2 separate regions of the Homo sapiens genome follow, and region 2 is linked to region 1. The links are contacts of gene promoters, found by promoter capture Hi-C in human tissues and cell types (Jung and others, 2019). All regions are on one chromosome and are shown on one strand. The core of a region is centred on a gene start or on the middle of the fragment in contact, and the rest is flanking DNA. Distances in the headings are between cores, read along the strand shown.

Region 1 (5,620 bases), core at 269-2,768:
AGTTGTGAAATTAGAGATTTAGAATGCATAATCTTTCCACTTTCTTCCCGCTCTGTGGTTCAGAGCCTCTGAACTTTTTAAACCTTTTAAAATCAGATTCCTTTAAAAGATGATTGCTGTCTATATTCGATAACAAGAAACTTGTGGGTAAATTGTGGTGAAACTGTACAACAAAATGTTAAAACAAAAATGAACTTATTTGATAGTGTCATTAAAAAGTAAGTTGCAAAACTGCTTGTGCTGTTTGACCCAAATTTTGTTTACACACACACACACACACAACACACACGTATTTGAATACCTATATGTAGACAGAAAGCTGAAATATGATCCTCCACAATGCTACGGCAGCAGCTACCTCTAGGTGGTAGAATTACAAGCAAGATTTTTTTTCTTCTTTGTACTTTATTTTCCAACTGTTCTACAAAGTACAATACTTTTATAATTAGGGAAAAAATACATGTTATTTAACTTTTAAAAAGAAAATACCAAGAAGGTGTTAGCTAGGCTTTTGTAAACCCCAACATCTGAGAAACATTATGTTTTGTTTGAAGCATTTGCAAGTGATTAAAAGACACTTTGAAACTTTACAAAAGCTTTTAATGAAGTTTAATGCATTTTGTTTCGACGGAGAAGCAGGCAGAGGCCTGGGTTCTAGTCCCCAAAAGCCCTCCCGGGTCTTCCCCTCTCTGAGTCCCCAGATCTGCCTCTGAAGATCGTGCTCACATCAGCTGGCATCTGTTGAGTACTTGTTCCTGTAGGCTTGGCTCTGTGAGCCCTGCCTGTGTTCACACCTGCCTTTGATCGTCAAAGCCACTCTAAAGGGAGGGGTGCTACTGTCATCCCATTTTACAGACAAGAAAACTGAAAGGCAGAGGCTGAGAAATTTGCCCGGGTCCCTCAGCAGATGAGGGGCGGAGGCCAGTTCTGTGAGCCACCTCTTAGGGCACACTCCTCACTAGGCTAACAAAAGCAATACACAAGCTTCATTCCTCCGTCCTCCTTAACTCTGATGGGGAGCTGTTTTTCTCCCCATCCTCCCACTCCTTTTTTTTTCTTTTTTCTTTTTTTTTTTTTTTTTTTTTTTTACATTTTACAACAGATCCTTTGATATTTGCTAGTAAGTCACAAAAATTGTGTTGTCTTTACTTTTTCTTGTGTTTTGAAGAAAGCAAACCATTGGTATCATATTTAAAAGGAGATGAATAAAACACAAATACTCCTGAGATTTACATTTACTAGAAAAGAAAAATATCCTTTTCTCTCTCTCTCTCTTTTTTTTTTCGTGTAAAGGCAAGGGTTTAAGAACTGGGTCTGCCATGCACCCCTGTCCTGAGCGGGCGGGGGACTCACCGAGGGCTCCGAGACCTGCAGGAGGTTGAAGTCGCGGGTGATCTCCTGGCTCAGGGCCCGCATGCGGGAGTAGCAGGTCGGGGGAGTGGGCCGCGCGGCGGGGGCTCCCGCCAGGAGCAGCAGCAGCACGGGCAGAGGCCCAGGCGTCCTCATGGTGCCAGGCGCTGGTGCAGCCTCGCCGACCGCCCCTTTATGCAGGCTGGGGGTGGTCCAGGGCGGCTCCACGCCTCCACTTCCTGTGGGGCCAGCGCAGGCTGCGGTCCATCCAGGGTGGCAGAGAGGAAGCCAGCACGCCCACCGGGCAGGGTCGGGACAGGAATCCTCTCAGACACGAAAGCCCCAGGTTAAGAGGAGGGGCTGCCTGGAGGAGGGGGTGACAGAGGGTGGCTTTGCCTCCCCCACACTTTCAGCAAGAAATTTCTTTCTGCACAGGGACTTTTCCTGAAAAGGCAGGAACAGCAGATGGAGAGGGGTGGGGGATAAGAGGAGGACAGAGATGGAAGGAGGGGAGGGTCAGAGGAGAGGAGTGGGCAGTCAGGCCTGGGTTTGGATGGCACGGTTTGTCAAAATGGATATAGTGCCAGGAGGGAAAGGGACTAGCAGGGGATGACTGAGCATCCCTCCCTCCAGGCAGCCCGCAGTGGAGCAGGGATGCAGAGCTGCGGTCAGGCCACCGGTGTCCTCGTCCATCAATCGCTAACCAGGTAGGTGAGCCTTGGGCCAGGGCCCCCAGCCTCTCAGAAGCCGTGTGTGTCTCTCGGTCCGGAGGATGGGCTCACTGAGCGGCCGTATGTGTGGGGAGTGTGAGTACCCCCACCCTCTTCTACCTCAAGCTCCCAGCACAGGCCCCGAGGGAGAGCAGACCCTCAGGAAGGGTTAGTTTTCAAGAAGTGCATCTCCCTCAGGGCTAACTTCCCAAGACAGTGGCAGGTAAAGGTCTAGGCTCTCCACTTAGACGCCGTGGGTGCAAAGCAGGGTCACCGCCTTCTGGCTTTGACCTTGGGCAAGTTTCTTCAGTGTTTCCTCCATCTCCTTATCTGTGAGATGAGGCTGGTGAGAGTGGCTCACTCAAAAGGCCATAGTGAGGAATCAACAGGATATAGCATGACTGAGCAAGCCTCATGCCAGGCCCATTGTGTGTTTCCAAGTGATCGGAGCTAATAGCACTGTCTCTGTTAAATCCAGCAATTGTCTCTGTGAGGTAGGTGCCACAGAAAAGAGTCCCATTTTCCAGGTGGGAAAACTGAGGCTCAAGAGTTCCAGCAACTTGCTGGAGGTCACAAAGCTGGAGGCACATGGGTTGGGATGAGACTTCAGGCCCTGTCCTCCTGCCATTCTTCCATCCCACAGGGCAGGATGGGTGAGGAGCAGGACTCTTGCAGGCAGAGATGAGTTGGGGTCCTCAGGCTGCCCAAGATCAGGCAACAAGCAAGAAGGAACTGTCAAAAGGGAGAAGATTCTTCCTTAACACTGAACATGACTTACATACCAGCAGCCACCAGGCCAGCTGCCATTGGGAACGCTATGACCCTCACAGCCAGCCAATGAAGTGAATGGGGTTATTCCCAATTCCCAGGCGAGGAAACTGAGGGCCTCGGGGGATGTGAAGCTGGGAAGAGCAGTGGAGCCCTGGAGCTATGTCTGGACTTTCCTGCCTCCAAAGCTTCCTCCAACAAAGGAGGAAAGGGGAGCATCCTGGGCAAGCTCCACATTCCCAGAACAAAACAACCAAAGATGCAGCCCACAGGGATGGGTGAACCAGAGCATGGCATCCTGGACACAGGGCTGGACTGAGGATCAACCACAGGGATGAAGCCCGGCTCCAGCTTGTCCCCACTGTATTTGCCAGGAGAAATCCCTTCTCGACCTGGCCTCCATTCCCTGTCTGTAAACAGGATAGCATCACGCTGGGCGATGTCTGAGGTTCCTTCCAGCCCCAGTGTTTTATTTATCTAGTTTCTGGTGGTAAAAGCCCTGGGCAGGGACTGTAAGCTGTGCCTTCCTGTTTTGTAGGTGAGAATGTGTTCTCTAAACACCTTTAGCAAGATGACATAGGGACCGCGGCCTTCGGGCAGAACTGTGTGTGCTTGGAGGTGGCAAGTGGAGGCACAGATGTGTTTTCTTCTGGGTGAAGGAGTCTCCACACTCCCTCCATGATAGTGCCTGGGGCATGGGCCTCCCTGGCAGAATAGCTGGCCCCAGCTGGGGACTCTAGGTCTGCTTTAAAATGCTCTAGGGCTTCTGGATGTGCTCAAGGAATGGGCTTAAATTCAGAGCAGGGAAGAAAAACAAGCCCATGGACCAAACAAGTCCTGCACCATTAGATCAAGGAGACATTGCTGTGCTGGAAAACAGGAGTCATTTGTGAGATAAATGTACTGCTGGGAGACTTGACCTTGTTCCACCCGCAATACCGTGTGTGGTTATTCATGGGACTTCTTGGGTAAATCAGCTGAGCTCAGAGCTGCAAAGAGGCTTATAGGCCTTCCCATTGAGCATGAGAATGAATGAGTAAGTGGCTGTAGCCATAAGCTGTCACTGGTACCAACTGAGATATGGTGGATGCTGGGCCCCTGAGGAGTCACAGTCAGTGGGGAGACAAGGAATGAGGCTGTTGTGCACTGGGCCAGGTGCAAGAGAATCGCCACCTCTCACTCTACCAAGCCAGGAGTGGGATGAATGGGAAGAACACCAGAGGAGAGGGTGCCTCGTGCTGATTCCCAGGGCAGGTGGAGACAAGGAGAAACAGCCTGTGCCGAGCCCAACACACACAAGCTTGCCTGCCGAGCCCAATGCATGCCAGTGTGCATCCGGGAATTCTATCTGCTTTCTGGCCCTCTCCAGGGTTCCTCCGCATCCTATGCATGATACATTGACTTGCCTCCTGGCATCTGTCTCCTTTAATGACCATGCCCTTCTCTAGGAGAGAAAGACAGTCTTTCTCATCTGTTTCTCGGCACCCAGCACGCAGCCAGGTAGAGCGGATGACCAGTAAGGTGTGGCTGAATGGACTTGGTGACTACTCGTGTTACTCAGAGATTAAGGCACAAGCCCACTAAGAAACCTACGCAGGACAGCCTGACGTGGCTCCCCACCAGGGGCTCCCTATGAGACGCCGCACTGGATACAGGCTGGTGGACCCCCGCACGTGTGTTCTGTTCTCAAATGTCTCCTTCACCACGAATCACCTGCATCCTCCCACCAGCTCTTTCTCTGCCCCCTTCTGAGGCTCCTTCAGCAGTTGGCTGCTCCGAATATTAAAAATCCAGGCAGGAATTTGCCCACAAATCAGGTAAGCCCTTGTCTCCGCCAAAAGGTCTCTTCTGGTTTTCTTAATGTCTTACATCGGGCACGGACCCCATCATGCAGGAGAGCTGAAGAGTCAGAGTTAACGAGCAGGTGAACATCTCTGAGGTAGATATCGGCCATTGCCTTTGGATGGGTTCTTCATTTGCCAGATGCATGTCTATCTATTTATCGAGAGTCTGTTGTGTGCCAGGCACTGAGATGGGTGAAAAGACAGTGAATGACAGAGTTGCTATCCTCTCGGAGGAGATTGATGAGGGCAGCTGACACTCTGGGTGAGTGGTGTGATGGCAGAAATCCTAGTGTTTCTGGAGCCCCTAACCCATCACTGGCAGCTGCTCCCTATCAGGTGAGAGCTGAGAGGTGACGAATGCAGTGGGGAAGCGGGGTAGGTATGAAGGCATGTGTGTGTGTGTGTGTGTATATGTGTGTGTTTGTGTGTGTCTCTGTGAAAGACAGAGAGTGAGGGAGATTGTAAGATATTGTGCTGCTGGCTTTGAAGATGGGAGAAGAGGCCACAAGCCAAGGAATTCAGGAGGCCTCTAGAATGCAAAGAAAGATTCCTGCCTAGGGCCTCCAAAACGGGCCCAGTTAGACCCCTTCTGAGCCCGGAATTGTAAGATCATAAATTCGTGATGCTTGGAGTCCCTCGGTTTGTGGTGATTTGTTACAGCAGCCACAGGAAACAAGCATACTGTCTCTCTGGGGTTTGGTAGAATAACAGAAATTAATGTGGGAACCTAGAAATTATCCAGATCTACCTGCCTGCTGCTTATCCTTCCTTTACAGTCTCCCTGTCAAGTGCTTGTCCAGAGTCTGCTTGCATACGTCCCTGGACAGGGAGCTCTTTGCCTCTTACAACTTCCTTCCAGTCTCTGGGCAGCTCCAAATTCTTCCCAGGGTGGAGATGAGATGCGATGACACCCTGGTGCAGGCCTTCAAATCCTGTACCTTCTTATGC
Region 2 (5,041 bases), core at 67-2,566, 130 kb after region 1:
TTGCAGGTGTCATAGTAAGCCTGAGGTGTGTGGATGTGATGAGAGGGACCTGGGTGGACACAGCAGCACTGCCACCTTCTTATTTTCCTATTCCCATGAATTACCCACTGTCCTTACCAGCTATAGAAACTAACATTGTTTTCTGCTCGGTGAGATCATGTTGGGCTTCCAGTATTTGCCACCTAAAGAGTCCTGACTAATCAGAAACTAACAGTGATGGTCCTGGCAACTGGAGACCCATTGTCTACCTTGTCCCACTAATAGCCCAGTATGATGGATGTTATTATCCCCGTTTTACAAATGATGAATCCGCGTCCTGGAGAGGACCCCACTGCCATGCACAGCCTGTTTTATTTTCAAATGTCCCTCCCAGATACAGAAGTGACGTTGAAACTGGCTTCTATCACAGGCACATCTGCTGGAAACAAGTGGGGTCAGGAGGAAAATGTCCATCAGTGTCCAATGACAGACATTTGGTTTTGGATGCAACAGGGCATAGAGGAAAGGGTACAGGCTTCCAGATTGGGGAGGTCTGGCTCTGGGTCAGAGCCTGCTTCTTCCAGTCATGGAAACTTGGACCAATCATGTGGCTCCTGCAACCCTCCCTTTTGTCTTCTGAGAAAAAGTAATGATTATAATGGATAATGGACTTTAGGTTCTTATGTGAGAATAAGGGGGCAAACAATGTTCAGCCCTCAGCATGGTACCTGGCGTGTGGATGGCCTTTTTCTTTCCTTTTTTTTTTTTAATTTGGTAAACTTCAACATTCATTGGTGGAAAAAAAAAGCTCTAAAGAAAGTAGGGCCTAGAAGGAACTCTCTCGACCTGATAAAAAGCATTTACCAAAAACATACAAAAACATTTTATATAATGCTGAAAGATTAAATGCTTTTCCAAAGTAGAAACAAGGCAAAGATATGACTCTTGCCACACCTATACACATCAACAAATGTCCTAGCTATTACAATAAGAAAATAAAATCATACAGATTTACTATGAATAAACAGAACTGTCTCTATTCACAGACTTATGTTTTTTCTACATGGAAAACATCAAAGAAACTACAAAATGTCTACTAGAATGAAAATATGAGTATAGCAAGCTTGAAGAATACAAAGTCAATATAAAAAACTATGTTTATGCTTTGGAATATTTATTTTTATTAAGATGGCAATTCTCTGCAAACTTATATACAGATTTGATTTTGGTTCTGTAATCAAAGTCACAGAAGATTTTTTATAGTTATCTATACTAGATTCTAAAATTTATATGAAAAGTAAAGGATCTAGAAGAGCTAAAACAATTTTGTAAAACAAGATCAAAGTTGTAGAGGTATATTACCCAATATCAAGATGTACTGTGAACCTACAATGATTGAGACAGTATGTTATTGATGAAAGAATAAGCATGAATAATAATGGAATTTGAGAGTCCTACTAATCTATGGCTGGATGGCCTTTTTCAAATGCCTTCCATGTCTTTTTTTTTTTTTTTTTTTTCATGACAGAGTTTCGCTCTTGTTGCCCAGGCTGGAGTGCAATGGCACGATCTTGGCTCACTGCCACCTCTCCCTCCTGGGTTCAAGTGATTCTGCTGCCTCAGCCTCCCAAGTAGCTGAGATTAGAGGCATGTGCCACCAGGCCCGGTTAATTTTGTATTTTTAGTAGAGATGGCGTTTCACCATGTTGGTCAGGCTGGTCTTGAACTCCTGACCTCAGGTGATCCACCAGCCTCAGCCTCCCAAAGTGCTGGGATTACAGGCGTGAACCACCGAGCTTGACTGGTTTCCATGTCTTCTTGAAGCCAGCATGGCTAGGATTTTACTTGGCTTGGTGGGTTCTAGAAGGATCTGGGTATCCACATGGAGGAACATGCCAGGGAGAAGACCTGGGACTGAGGCCCTTCCTGTGTCTGGTGCTCCTAGTGTCATCCTCACCATCTCTCTCACACAGCAGCGCCAGGCATGGCTTCTGGGCTGCTGATCTGCCTTCTCCATGTGACTGAGATTCCCAAGGGGCTGGGACCTGGTCATGCCCATCCGCACTTAGCTTGGTGCCCAACATGTGGTAAAGGCTCAGTAAGTGCTGGCTTAGTGAGTGCTCGGGTGAGAGAGGGAAGAGGACAGCAACTCTTGGTCTAGACAGCAGCCAGGGATGTGCGCAAATCATGAATTAGCTTGCTTGGTTGCTGCCTCCCTCCCACTCGGGATATGTGCCAGTCCCTCCATGCCAGGCCACAAGGTCATGCAGTCTGGCCTGTGCCTGTTTTTCTGACTCTGCTTTCTATCCTCTCTGTCTTCCTGCTCATTCTGTTCCAGCCCTTCTTCAAGTCTCTTGACCACACTGGAGTTATTTCTACCTCAGAACCTTCACACTTGCTCTTCTCTCCACCTCAGTCACCTTTCCCCCAGGTGTTTGCAAGGCTCACTTATAGCATACAGGGCTCTGCTGAGATGTCCACTCTGTGGCGCCTTCCCAGAATGCCCACCCTCTTCGTCTCCACCTCAACCTTCCATATTTCCTTGCCCTTCTCTTCCCCTTTTCTTTATAGCACCTATAAACTACCTGTGATTCTATTATGTGTTTATTCAGATGTCTTCTTGGTTATGGGTCTCATGCACCAGAACATAAGCTCTTTGAGGGCAGCAATGTTTCCTCTTGTTCGCTGTTTTATCCCTAGCTCCTGCTAAGCAGTATACATGCACACACACACTCACATGCACATATATGTACATATACCTACCTATCATGCAGTTTATAGAGACACACATATGTATATGCATATACATTAGGCATACCCACCGATATGGTTTGGCTCTGTGTCCCCACCCAAATCTCATCTCGAATTGTAATCCCTACCTGTCAAGGGAGGGGCCTGGTGGGAGGTGACTGGTTCCTGGGGGCGGTTTCCCCCATGCTGTTCTCATGATAGTGAATTCTCACGAGAGCTGATGGTTTTAAGGTGTGGCACTTCCTTGCTCTCTTTCTCCTCCTGCCTTGTGAAGAAGGTGCCTGCTTTCCCTTCATCTTTCGCCATGATTGTAAGTTTCCTGAGGCCTCCCTGGCCAAACGGAACTGTGAGTCAATTAAACCTCTTTTCTTTATAAATTACCCAGTCTCAGGTAGTATCTTTATAGCAGTGTGAGAACAGACTAATATACCCACTAAACAGTTCACATATATACACAGTGTCTAAGCAATATGTACACGTGCATATACATATACATAGATATGCATATACATATATACCTCTCTACATAATATATATACCCACTAAACAGTATATATGTACATATACCTATAGATCCACCACAAAACACATACAGTACACATATTCATAGATACACATACATGTATATGCATATACATATATACACTCAATGTATATGTATACACATATACATATACACACTCATATGTATATGTGTATACATATACACATATGCATACACCACTGAAGTGGTCTATATGTACATACACTTACACATATAGCGTATACACATACATTGATCTATGATACAGATAACATATATAATATAAATGCATGAATATTATATAAATAAATAAATATAAATGAATGAAGAACTTAACAATTAACCAATCAACAGATACGATTTTGACACATGGTTTATATTGATTGACTCAGGGTTAGCACGCAGAGGTGAGTTTCTCCCACTCCTCTGCATGCAAATTTACTTCGCACAGACACTCCTCTATTTCCACTCACCCTCGTCCAGCCCCTACTCTTCACTCTCCATTGGCTCCTCTTGACCCCTTTGATGGCTGAGCCAGCAGGAGCGTCCACGGTGAAGTGCTCCACTTTGAGTTAACTCTGTAGTCAGCAGGGCTTCGTTATTTCTGAGGGAAGGAGGAGGATACCTTTGGGAGGACTCTGAGGAGTGAGCTTCGAAAGTGTCTTCTTGGATTGGCACGTGGGCCCTCTGCTTGAAGAGCTGCAGGGTCAAAGTGAAGTAAACGTGGAGTTAATTAAAATTCATGGGATAGCTGGAGGCAGTCTGCACATAAAATGGCAGAAAATGGCACAGTGTTATATGATAATAGCTCTTTATGCCCCTCAAAGGAAGATTCTGGATAAACTTGAGCAAGAGTTGTACAAATGATAATTCCAGACTCCATACCGCCTTATTATGCAATGATGATCATTTCCAGACCCAAGCATATTATTACTTGTCTCATTCCACATGAGAATAAGGAAAGACTCTTTGCAGGCTCTCACAGCTGCATGTGAATTCAGAGTGTGAAAAAAAAAAGATTTGATTAATAGCAGACTAACCAATTTAGTGCCCAGACTGTAACAAATCCATTTGGGAATTAGCAGGAATTCGATTTTAGATGAATGTTTGTAAGGTTCAATGTTCAAAAGCATTTGGCTTATCAGGGTTTTCCTTAAAAATGTATTCTTTTAGAATCTTATTGATCTTTCAAGGTACTGGGTCTCTAAGATAATGGGAGCATGCTGGAATGCCTGGCAGGATACTGAGTTCAACAGTTAATGTTCACGGATCACTGCTCTGCCCTGGTCTTACTCTAGCTACCTGTGAGGATGTAAAAAAAAAAAAAAAAAAAAAGCTGAACAAGGTTCCTGACACTGAAGAACTGACAGTTTAGTAGAAGAAGCAGACTGACATATAAACAATAAGTATGATGATTTCCATTGATGATAGCTGCTCTGCAGAAAATGTGTAGTGCAGTGACCTGCAAGGGTGGGACTGCTTCAGTGGGGGTGAGGGCAACAGAGACAGCCTCTCCGAGAGGAGAAATTTGAGCTAAGACCCAACTGCTGAGAAAGAAATGGGCCACGTGGGGATCTGGGGAAAAGGTCATCACAGACCAAAAGAGCACCAGATGCAAAGGTCCTGAGGCAGGAACAGAGTTAGCAGTGGAGCATGTAGCAGGCTGTGTATCTCCAGTGCCCAGCACTGTGTCTGCCACAAGCGAGGACTTAGAATGTGTGGTTGCTCTTTGTAGGGAACTGAATGAGTTAATTAGCTTAGAGCTTATTAAACAGTTTTGACTGCAAA

Evidence for each region. The method cuts DNA at HindIII sites, captures the fragments that hold promoters and counts their contacts. A contact is called where the count stands out against the background at its distance.
Region 2: a fragment that was not itself captured here is called in contact with the fragment with the promoter of CYTL1 in region 1 in 1 of the 25 tissues and cell types used here (mesendoderm cells).

The regions. Positions count from the first base shown.
Region 1 is chr4:5,017,940-5,023,559 of GRCh38, forward strand. CYTL1 (cytokine like 1) reads right to left here and starts at 1,519. Exons shown (of 4, transcript NM_018659.3): 1 at 1,354-1,519. The coding sequence starts at 1,506. It also overlaps a transcript of STK32B not described here. The HindIII fragment of the contact is 2,782 bases long and covers 791-3,572 here.
Region 2 is chr4:5,152,733-5,157,773 of GRCh38, forward strand. The region is part of intron 2 of STK32B (serine/threonine kinase 32B); the gene reads left to right. Among named protein-coding and RNA genes, the nearest start is that of STK32B, 100 kb to the left of the region's middle. RefSeq lists an enhancer at 1,422-1,923. The HindIII fragment of the contact is 4,803 bases long and covers 1-3,718 here.